Regions from separate parts of the Homo sapiens genome. Here region 2 is linked to region 1. Evidence: promoter capture Hi-C in human tissues and cell types (Jung and others, 2019). All regions are on one chromosome and are shown on one strand. The core of a region is centred on a gene start or on the middle of the fragment in contact, and the rest is flanking DNA. Distances in the headings are between cores, read along the strand shown. Region 1 holds the start of SLC8A3 (solute carrier family 8 member A3). Region 2 holds the start of LOC124903340 (a long non-coding RNA gene).

The links. Contacts are between HindIII fragments. The study calls those that stand out against the background at their distance.
Region 2: a fragment that was not itself captured here is called in contact with the fragment with the promoter of SLC8A3 in region 1 in 1 of the 25 tissues and cell types used here (pancreas).

Annotation. Positions count from the first base shown.
Region 1 is chr14:70,187,668-70,193,389 of GRCh38, forward strand. It overlaps SLC8A3 (solute carrier family 8 member A3), which reads right to left and starts at 1,284. Exons shown (of 7, transcript NM_182932.3): 1 at 712-1,284. It also overlaps the pseudogene LOC646548. RefSeq lists silencers at 719-858, 929-1,258. The HindIII fragment of the contact is 13,926 bases long and covers 1-5,722 here.
Region 2 is chr14:70,342,248-70,347,962 of GRCh38, forward strand. The region is part of intron 3 of SYNJ2BP-COX16 (SYNJ2BP-COX16 readthrough); the gene reads right to left. COX16 (cytochrome c oxidase assembly factor COX16) reads right to left here. Exons shown (of 4, transcript NM_016468.7): 2 at 411-482. LOC124903340 (a long non-coding RNA gene) reads left to right here and starts at 2,888. Exons shown (of 2, transcript XR_007064238.1): 1 at 2,888-2,946; 2 at 4,081-5,715. The HindIII fragment of the contact is 3,026 bases long and covers 849-3,874 here.

The sequences.
Region 1 (5,722 bases), core at 34-2,533:
GGGGGAGGGTTAGTTATATATTTCGATTCTCTCCACCGAGTCCCGGATCACGCAGACCACCAGGGGCTGGAGAGTGCAGCACTGGAGAAACCCTCCTTCTCCCTCGCCCCCTTGGCCCCAGCGGTGGGTGCTCTGGGGCTGCAGCTCCCGACCCGCGGCGGTGGAGTCCCGAGATTGGGGTGAGCGCGTGCGTGCGTATGTGCACGCGGGCGCGCGCCGAGTGGATAACGCGCTTCCCTGCTAGCCCCCAAACCCGGCGGACACTCACAGCACCAGAAGCACAACACGCCCTGGCCCAGGTGGCACACATATGCCGACATGCATCCAGCACACACAACACAGCAGTCAGTCTCCCCAAACAGCACCCGCTACCAACCCAGCATGCTCACGATCCAACTGTACCCACCTGCCCAGGCATCTCTCTCTGCCCCTCCCCACCCGGCGGCACCCTCCTGTAGACACCCACTCTGCCAGATCTGCCCCCCCAACACTGCATACACAATGTACACTTTCCGGGGCACCCTCACCCCACTTCTCCTGGCACTAAATCCACAGGAAGGCGGTTCATATGAATGATCTTGAGAAATAACTTAACCCCGTTACTCACAATCAGGGATCCTCTTAGGGGCATCCCAAGCCCCCCAACCTCTACCTCCCATGTCTCGGCTGCCCGCTAAGGGGGAAGGGCAGGAGGCTCACCCCATTACTCACCGTTTCCTCTCGGCCTCCCGAGCGGAGTGGGCAAGGGAGGGGGGTGAGGAAGGTACGCGATGCCCCCGCCGCCCGGCGCCTCACCGGTCGCAGCGGCTCATCGCCCCCGCGGGCTGCCCGCCGGCCGCAGCCGCGTCCGGGGCATGTCAGTCCGCCGCCGCCGCCCTCCCGCCGGGGTTCGTGGGCTCGCAGCTGTCAGGGAGCTGCGGGGCAGCGCATCTGGAGCGCGGGGTCTGGGAGGGAGGGTGTCTGGGGCCAGGGCGAGGGGCCCCGGGAGGGGTCCTTCCGCACGGATTTCAGAAAGAGGGAAACCCCGACCCAGAGCGGTGACTGGAATCTACGCCCGGGAGAGGCCCGGAGTCCCGGCCGCGGGCGGCGGGGGATTCCTGCAGGAAGGGGCAGGAAGGCAAGCAGCCCGGCGCGCCCTGGCGGCTCCGAGGGACCTGGGCTCGGGCTTGCGGTCGCGTCGCCTGGGCTTTCCCTGGGCTGGGAGCGCGCCGGGTCTCCGCCTTGCACGCTGTCACCGCGGGAGACGTCTCGGCCTCGCCGCGCGCAGAGGGGACGCGCGGAGAGGCTGGTTTCTGGGCGAGCGGAGAGCTTTGCCCATTAAGCTGCCGGAAGAAGCCAAATCAAAAAGCCAATCTCCAAGCCTCCAAACGGAACGTCACCCTATCAGCTGGGAGACAGCGCCGCACTGACTGACAAGCCGCGCATATTTATCCTCGCGCGCGGAGGGGAGACTCTCAGAACGCTCCTCGACCAGCAGCGAGGAAGTCGAGCCCGCATCCCGCATCCCGCATCCCGCATCCAGAGCCCCCGAGGGACGAATTCAGATCCAACCCCTGCCCCGCGGCCACCCACCCTAGTCGTTGGAGCCTGGCGCCCGCGCCTCCCGGCCGGCAGCACGTCAAAACGGCGGCGCGTCCTGACCTGGATTCCGCCGAGTTGGGAGCTCCAGGCAGCAGGCGGGCGCGCGGCACCGGCTTTCCCCTTGTCCTCAGGAGACGCTGCCTGCAATTCCGAAATTAAGTCTCCACCAAACACATCTGTGGTTTTTAAATATAGCAGGGAACTATTACCCAGGCAGGGTCCACCCAGGCCTAGGGGAGGAGTTGAGGGGGATGGAGATTGGCAGCGGAGGGAAAAGAAAACTCCTTTTTTCCCCCTCTTTTTTTCTTCTCTTCTTGGTGCAGAACCCAGCCTGTCATTTTCTCAACCCAAGTCAAACAACAGTTTGTGAGAGACGCTTGGGTGAGCTCTGGTATGTTGGCTTTTCGGGTTTCTAAAGCTAAAAATAAGAGGGGGCTGCCTCCCAAATTGCTGCTTACTCTGGGCCTGGAGGCTGGAAGAGAGCTGGTCCTTTGATGCAGCAGCGGGACTAGGGCTTGGGGCTTGGCTCAGGCGAAGTGTACACACGTAGCCTTAAATCAGATGCCTGTAATTTCTGCTATATTTGTCAGGCTTGGTCCTAGAGGCATGCGGGGTGGGCAAGCCACTCCTAAGAATGGGGTTTCAAGCCCTCAGCTTATCGGTGGCATTAGGCAGATCTAAAATGAGCCTGGTGGCTGGCCTTCTGTAGCGACACCAGTGCAGAAAAGTCAGAATGTAAGGGCAGGAAGTTGTTCTCTTTCAGGCCTCTCTGCTGCCTGAGGCTAAGTGTGAGGGGCCAACAAATGATAATAATACTTACCAAATAGCAGCACCTTTTAAGGGCCAGGAGTGGTGCTAGTGAATTTGATTGTATTACCTCATGCCATCCTACTAAAACTCTGTGAGCTAGGTACAATTACCAACTCCATTTTTTTGTTGAGGAAATTGAGCCTTAGGTTAAATAACCATCCCAAGGCCACGTGCAGCAGAGCCAAGGATTGAAATAAAATGCAACCAACCGGAGTTGTGCTGAGACGTCAACAGTGTGTGTGACTCCTGAGATCCCTGGCTCCTTTGCCCGGCTGCTCTGGAGCAAGGCTTGGTTCAAACAGATTAAGGGGGTGTAGAGACTAGGGAATCTCTAAGCCTGAGATGGCAGGAGGTCTTTGCTGGTCCTTTGACTCAGTGTTCCGTTAGCAAGCTGTGTGGTGGTTTCTGGCCTGAGTCCGGAGTCAGAATCCTGGATGTGCTCAGTAGGAGCAGTAGGAGTGCTTTCAGACCCCTGAACCTTTATGGGTCTTGAATTTCATTTAAAGTTAGGGCTGGGACTGACTTTGAAAGGTTTCAATAGCTTCTAAAGTTGTGGGATCTCAGGATATGTCAGTTACTGGGACTTACCTTGTGTCTGCTCCCGTGGAGAGTCACAATGCTGAGTCTACACATTGAGAGTCTACAGTAGAGACAAAGAGATGGCTAATGGGCACCTAAATTGATAGAGTTTTTAGGTAGGGCAATTTTGAAAGATACATCAAATTCCTTAAAAACGTGAATGCCTGTGACCCAGTAATTTTACTGGAAGAAATTTATTCTATGGCAATCATTAAGGATATGCTCAAATATTTAGTTACAAGGATATTCATGGTAGTGTTTTTAAGAGTGAAAAATTGGAAACATCTTAATTTTCCAACACAACAAATTGGTGAAGTAAACATGTTTTGTTGACATAATGCTGTATTCTACCACTGTAAAAATACAGATGCAGCATTCTGTGTACTGGTGTGGAAAGGTTTTTATAATATATCGTAGACAGAGAGAAAAAAAACCCCAGAACACAGTGTAACACAGCATGTGCGGGGGTGGCGGGGTGGGGATGAATGCCCTGGCAGCATAAAAACCCCAAAATGGTAGTGGTTATCTCTTGGTGGTGGGATTTCTGGTGATTTTGTTTCTCTTTGTATCAATCAACTTTATTGAGGTGTAATTTACATACAACAACTCACCTTTTTTCTGATCTATGCTTTATGAAGGCATCAAAAGCAAGGTCTAGTGCACAGGCTAAATGACTATCTCAGTAGTGAGGAACATGAATCTGCAAAACTATCCCAGTAGTGAGGAACATGAATAATATTTCAAGATACCTGCAAAAACTAACTGATGATATTAAAATATCTGACATTTCTAATGGAGATAAAGTTACAGGTATCCAAACATCACTACTACTACTAAAAACTCACCTGTTTTAAGTGTATAGTTTGAAGAGTTTTTATACAAGTACATACATGTAGAGCAACAACCTCAGTCAAGACATAGAACATTTTCATCTCCCCCAGAAGTCCTCTCAGGCCCCTTTATACTCATCCGCTCTTCCCACAGGCAACTATTGATCTGCTTTCTGTCACTGTGGCTTAGTTTTGCTTGTGCCAGAATTTTATTTGTTTGCTTGTTAATATCTATTGATATATTTTCAGTGAACATTACCTATTCACTAAAACTGAACCAGCAACAACAACAGAATTGGTCATGTCATTTTTTTAGAACTACCAAACAAAACAGACAGGAACCTTGTCTTCCTCTTGTCACCTGTGACAGGGCAATGCTGCGGGGAGGAAGGCAAGAGGTGCCAAAGCATGTTCAACCAACGCTGTCGGCAGAGCTGACTTGCGTAGGTTCCTCTGAGTTCTAGGTAGACTGAAATAGCAAAGCCCAGCTCTGCATTCTGAGCCTCAGTGTCCTCACCAGTAAAATGGGAATAATAATAATTATTATTATTAATAATAATAATAATTATTATTATTATTATTAATTATTATTATTAATAATAATAATACCCACCTCGTGAGGTTGTTGTGAAGCTTCAGTGAGATTACAGTTTCTGGTACAGACCAATCCCCAAATATATATCAATTCTCCTTCTCCCCTACTTTTGTTCTCCCCCAACCCTGCTTCTCTCCCATCTTAAGTTCTACAGCCAACCTTCACGTGGCCTATGAAGTCTCAGACTGCTTTCAACTCTGGACATTCTCACTTCTTTTTTTCTCCCCACTACATGCATACAGGGTTGGAAAACATTAAATGTAATGACACCGTACTTGCATTTCTGCCATTGTTACTTATATCTAGCTGTACTGGAACCCAAGGAGATGTTCACAAGGAAGATGGAAAGTAAGCTGTGTAACATCAGCATTGGGAGCAAGAGCCACAAACCTCATTTTCAAGTTGGGAAGAAACTCAGGACCCGAGAAGCTACAGGATTCAGCCCAGTCACAGAGCTTGGTAAGAACTAGACAGACTCTTTTATGGACTGAATTGTGTGTCCCAAAACTTGTGTGTTGAAGCCCTAGCCCTTAGTACCCAGAATGTGCCTGGGTTTTGAGACAGGGTCTTTAAAAAGGTAATAAAATTAAAACAGTGCCGTCAGTGTGGGCCCTAATCCACTATGACTGCTATCCTTATAAGAAGAGGAGATTAGGACACAGACAGACAGAGGGACAACCTTGTGAGGACACAGCGAGAAGGCAAGCCAAGGAGAGAGAAATCAAATGTGCTGACACCTTGATGTGGGAGTTCTAGGCTCCAGAACTATGAGAAAATAATTTCTGTTAGTTAAGCCACTCAGTCTTTGGTATTTTGTCATAGTAGCCCTAATTCTGTGAGTCCTTGTCATAGAATACCCTTTCTCTAGAGGCTGAGCAGCAAGTAATAGGGCAGATGGGATGAATAGTGGGAAGGGACCACATGGCTTCTTGGTGGGGCCCCAGTATTTGCCATTATGCTGCAGAACTCCACAAGTCAGTGCCTCTCCAAAAGCGGGGCCTCAGGCACTTCATAAGCAGACGACCTGCCAGTCCTGGCCACCAGTGGCACTGCATCCCACACAAGCCACAGTGTCTCTTCTCACAAGCAACCTAGGTGCCAGCATTCCACAGCCCTTGGACTATACAATCTGATAGCAGTTGAGAAACAACAGCAGTCAAGTGGAAGCTAAAAGTAAGTTCTGGAACAGCTCTGTAGGGAGGATGGAAGTTTAGTAAACCCTGTCTGATAATAGGGTATTTATTTAGTGAGACATAATTCTTCCCTATGCGTTATATTATTTTTAATCTCATTATAACTTGTATTTCAAAAATTTGTCAATTATTTA
Region 2 (5,715 bases), core at 1,112-3,611, 160 kb after region 1:
CAGCCTGGCCAACATAGTGAAACCCCATCTCTACTAAAAATACAAAAATTAGCCGGGTGGTAGTGGCGCACACCTGTAATCTCAGCTACTCGGGAGGCTGAGACAAGAGAATTGCTTGAGCCTGGGAGGCAGAGGTTGCAGTGAACCAGGATAGGCCACTGCACTCCAGTCTGAGCGACAGAGTGAGACCCCGTGGCAAAAGAAAAAAAGAAAGATTACGAAATTAGTTACATTTCATGATTCACTGCCATGTGATCACTAATGTTATTTTAAAGAAAAAAACAAAGATCACATCTTAGTGTTGAAAAGCAAGACAAACTCAGACTACTTAGTATACTGAGTATACAATTCTCCTAAACCAGAACATACATATAGACAGACACATGTCAAACTCTAATTATATTTCTTACTTTACTCTTCACAGCATCATATCGGATTTGAGAAAACTCACGAAGACCAAAAGAACCTCCAACAATCAGCAACTAAAACAAAGAAAGGAAACATTTAAGCAAAACAGAAGACCAGAATTCAAATTCAGCCTATCTATAGATTGCTTTTCTAAACAACAATAGAGGCACATTATACAAAAATTCTATAGATTATTTTTCCTGGTGAGTCACCATTCATCTTTTAGAGTAAATGCAGTATATACTGGCTAGGAAATCATTATAGCACATCATTACCAAATACCAAAATCGTCACCCTATACCTGTATTTGACCTTATGATTTAAATGACATCATAACAAGCATTGTATTATCTGACTCTTACAATAGACCTATTTTTGTTTTTTGCTAAGAAAAAAACAAAAACAAAAACAAATTCAACAAATGAGGAAATAAAAGCACAGCCAGCTAAATGACTTGTCCATTGTTAACTTAAATTTTGCCCAGGGATGTCTCTGTAATTCCATTGCTATGCGATCTTCCTTAGTAAGTAATGAAATTGAAACCTGATCAACTGATCAGACCATGTCCAAATAAGGCAGATGCCTAGCTATAACCAACCAAGCTATTTCTGTACTTCACTTTCCTGTTTTGTCTATACTCATTGCCCATATTGCAGAATGGAGCTCTCTCAACTTCTGGTTCTGAGTGCTGCCTGATTCATGAATTTTCTTTGTTCAAATAAACTCTATAACATTATTGTTTTTTTGTTTAAGGTTTTCCTTCTTTTCGTACTATGATTACACAAGGTAAACCCAGCAGTAAAACTTGCCATTTTTTCCTTCAAGACCAGAATTCTTTTGATTTTATGATTTTTCAAAATAAGGCAATTGGAGTTCTCATTACCTTACCAAGTGATAAAGAAATCTCATGAAAACTTGCTGCAGAATATTCTGTATATCACATTGTATTCCCAGGGACAATATGGCTATACAGGTCACAGGTAAAGAAAGTCTTCAAATTCTTACTATATAGTGAAATTCTGAAACATCATCTTAAGATATACAGAATCACTTTCATGTTTTTGCTGGCACCTATTTGAGGCACAGTATTTTCAAAAGATTTAAACTTCATAATAAAGAATTGTAACCACCGAATGGGTTCACCTTGCGTGCTACCTAGACAGAGCTGATTTATCAAGACAGGGGAATTACAATGGGGAATAACAATGGGGAATTGCAGAGCCAGCTGTGTGGAAACCGGAGTTTTATTATTACTCAAATCAGTCTCCCCGAGCATTCAGGGATCAGAGTTTTTAGATAATTTGGTGGGTAGGGGCTTGGGAAGTGGGGAGTGTGCTGATTGGTCAGTTTGGAGTTGGACTCATAGGGGGCAAAGTGAGCTTTCCTTGCTGTTTTCTGTCACTGGGTGGGATGGCAGAACTGGTTGAGCCCAATTACCCGTCTGGGTAATGTCAGCTGATCCATCCAGTGCAGGGTCTGCAAAATATCTCAAGAACTGATGTTAGGTTTTACAATAGCGATGTTATCCCCAGGAGCAATTTGGGAGGTTCAGGCTCTTGGAGCCAGAGGCTGCATGACCCATAAACTGTAATTTCTAATCTTGTAGCTAATTTGTTGGTCCTGCAAAGGCAGACTGGTCCCCAGGCAAGAAGGGAGTCTTTTTGGGAAAGGGCTATTATCAATTTTGTTTCAGAGTCAAACCATGAACTGAATTCCTTCCCATAGTTCGGCCTATGCCCAGGAATGAACAAGGGCAGCTTACAGGTTAGAAGCAAGATGGAGTCAGTTAGGTCTGATTTCTTTCATTGTCATAATTTCCTCAGTTATAATTTTGCAAAGGCGGTTTCAGTATTGCTACAAAAGTTAATGACCACAAGGAGAAACTCACTCACCATTACTTATTGTGTGTCGCTCTTATAAAACAAGCTTAGAATGGACTTTGGATTTCAGAAGACACCTGTAGATTTCCCTGACATCTCAGAGCAGGGATGAATAGTGTAAGATTCTCCCTGGGACCTGAAAGCTTAAGGAGATGAACAACTCATCCCTTCTCAGGCCCAGTCCCAAGGCACAAGGCTACTTGTACCAGCAGTGTGCACCAGCAAGATAGCAGAAGCAGGAAGAGAGCCGGCCGGAAAATACGTACCCCTGAAGATTGAGAAAGAGGCCATCCAGGTACAACAGAGCAATTATGTCAGACTAGGACACTTCCTGTTTACAGGAGACTATAAAACCTTTGTCCCATCCTCACTTGGGGCTGATGCCATTTTAGGCCTCAGCCCACCTGCACCCACGCGCTCATCAAAACAGCATGTTGCTCCTCACCACCTCATGTTGTCTGTTGGTGCGCTCTCAGGGTTCCAACCGATACAAGAACCGTACATCTGGTGCTGAAACCCGGGAGAGGTTCTGGTCCACGTCCCCTGTGAACCTACCCCTCCACCCCAGACAGCAGGCCACAGCAGCCAGACAAAGGAAGCTCCTCGATCTCCAGTTGCCTCTCTGTGCATGCACATTGGTCACTGATCTTGCTTACTGGTAAGTTTCCTCAGGGGCCCAGTTAGCAGGGAAAATTCACACGGCCTCTCTTAGTTTCTCTGGTCCGAATATCCAGTGTTGGTCCAAGAAGGCGCCGGCGTGTGCCAGGCACTCGCTGATCATCTGGTCTTAGGGGGATGCCTCTAAGCCATTTGATCGTGTTCCAGGAACGAAAAAGGCAGCGGTGACAGTTGCTCCTTTTATCATCTCCCTCCAGGATGGTCTCCTTTTTCCCTGTTCTCCTGAGCCTACCCTCTGTTATGGGAAACTCCGGTCCTCCATTCCAAACAACAGCCCTCTAGGCTGCTTCATAAAAAACCTGCAAACCTTAGGCCTCAGGCAAGATATTCGCTCTAAGTACCTGTCTTTTTTGCAATACAGCCTGGCCACAGTACAAATTAAATAATGGGTCCAAATGGCCTGCAAATAGAACATTCAACTTTACAATTTTAACTGACTTAAGCAATTATTGCCGACGACTGGAAAAATGGGAAGAAATTCCTTATGTCCAGGCCTTTTTGCACTCAGTTCACAACCCAACCTCTGCAATTCTTGCTTACCTGTTCAAATCCTTCCCCTCCATTCTCACCGCCCTGATCGCCTTTCTCCTCCCGACCCTACCTCATTTTTCTCGTTCGATCCAACTGACTGCTATCCACCCCTCCCAACCCCTACCTTTTCCTCTCAACCATCTTTTTTAACCCCCCAAGCCTCCTCGTTGTCTTCTCAGCTGCCATCTTCCCAGCTGCCATCTTCCCAGTCAGCTGTATCCACTTCTTTTCCTACACCATCCCCTCCTCGGGACAATTCTAGTATTGCCTGTACCCATTCTCCTCCCCCACTGCCCTCTCCTAAAGCTTGTAAACTCATCCCGCCACCTTACGCCCCTGCCTATCCTCCACTGCCTGTTAACCCTCCTTCCCCCTTCAAACCCTCAGAACGAACCATTATCTTAAACCTTCGGTTCATCTCCCAATCCACCCCCGATATTCGGTGCAAGCTTCAGAAGCTTGATGATGGCCCTCAAACCTCACAAGACCGTCTTAATTTAGCCTTCATAGTCTTTAACAATCGTGATAGGGAAAGTAAAAGGCAAAAACAGGCGGAGTTTCAAATGCTTGCCTCCGCCATCAGGGGCCCTGCAGGCCCACGGGTCCGCAGCTCCACACGGAAGCCTCCTAGCAACCTACCTCCACTTGGCACCTTTTCAAGTGCGGCAATGAAGGCCACTGGTCCAGACAATGCCCAAATCCAGGTAAGCCCACCAGGCCATGCCCCCTCTGCAGAGGACCCCAATGGAAATTGGACTGTGAGCGGCCCCTGCAAGGGCGGCCCCATCACTTCCTAAGCCGGCCAAAACCTCCTACTTGGATCTCATTGGCCTTGCCGCTGAAGATTGATGGTGCCCTGGAATGGATGCCCCGGCAACTACCATCGCTTCATCCGAGCCAAGGGTAACCCTGATGGTGGCAGGTAGGCCAGTATTTTTTTTTTAATTAATACCGGGCAAACTACTCTGCTTTACCTAATTTTTCAGGACACACCCAGTCCTCCCTTTTCTCCGTTGTGGGAATTGACAGACAAGACTCCAAACCCTGAGCCACCCCTCCACTTTTCTGCTCCCTGCACACCTTTTCCTTCAGTCACCCTTTCTTAGTCCTGCCCTCATACCAGAGACATCCTTTCAAAACTCCACACTACTCTCCACTTGCACATTCCCCATAGTACCCAACGCATCAACCCAGACCCCTCGGGGCATCTAACTTTCTTCTACTCCTCCAACCTGCCACCTTAAAACATGCAACTTTACCTTATCCCCCATCCGTAGTTAACCCCGCTGTTTAGAATATTTCCACACCTTCAGTCGCAAAACACCACACCCCCGTCCGCATTACCCTTAAAGAGTCCACCCAGTTCCTATCACAGAAGCAGTATCCCATCCCCCAAGCAGCTCTCATAGGCCTAAAGCCTATCATTTCTCGCCGCCTCACCAGTCACCTACTCCACCCAAGAAACTCTCCTTTTAACACACCAGTTCTACCTGTTTAAAAGCCAGATGGAACTTATCACTTAGTCCAGGACCTCAGGCTCATTAACCAAGCTGTACTCCCAGTATGTCCAGTAGTTCCTAACCCATATACTTTACTTTCTGCAATTCCCTCCAATACCACCCATTTTCCTGTTCTATACCTAAAGGATGCTTTTTTCCACAATTCCTTTACACCCTGATTCCCAAAACCTCTTTGCCTTTACATGGGAAAACCCCGACACCCACCTTTCACATCAGCTCACCTGGTGCGTACTACCTCAAGGTTTCAGAGACAGCCCCCATCTTTTTGGACAGGCCCTTGCTCATGACCTCTGTACCTTATCCCTAAAACCGTCCACTCTCCTTCAATGTGTTAATGATCTGCTCCTGTGTAGCCCCTCTCAAAGAGACTGCAACGCCCATGCTATCTCTCTCTTTTAAACTTCTTGGCAGAACGGAGGTATCGGGTCTCCCCTAAGAAAGCACAAATATGAGCCCCCTTAGTCACTTATCTAGGCCTGGCTCTTACCCCATGAACCCGAGGGCTCACAACCGACCACATATCCCTCCTCCAGTCTCTCCCACCTCTGCAAACTAAGCAAGAAATTCTCTTTCCTAGGACTAGTGGGATATGTTAGGCTCTGGGTTCCCTCCTTTGCTCTACTTGCCAAACCATTATACCAAGACACTAAAGGCCCTCTCCATGAGCCTTCAAACCCTGCATAGCCTATTACCCAACC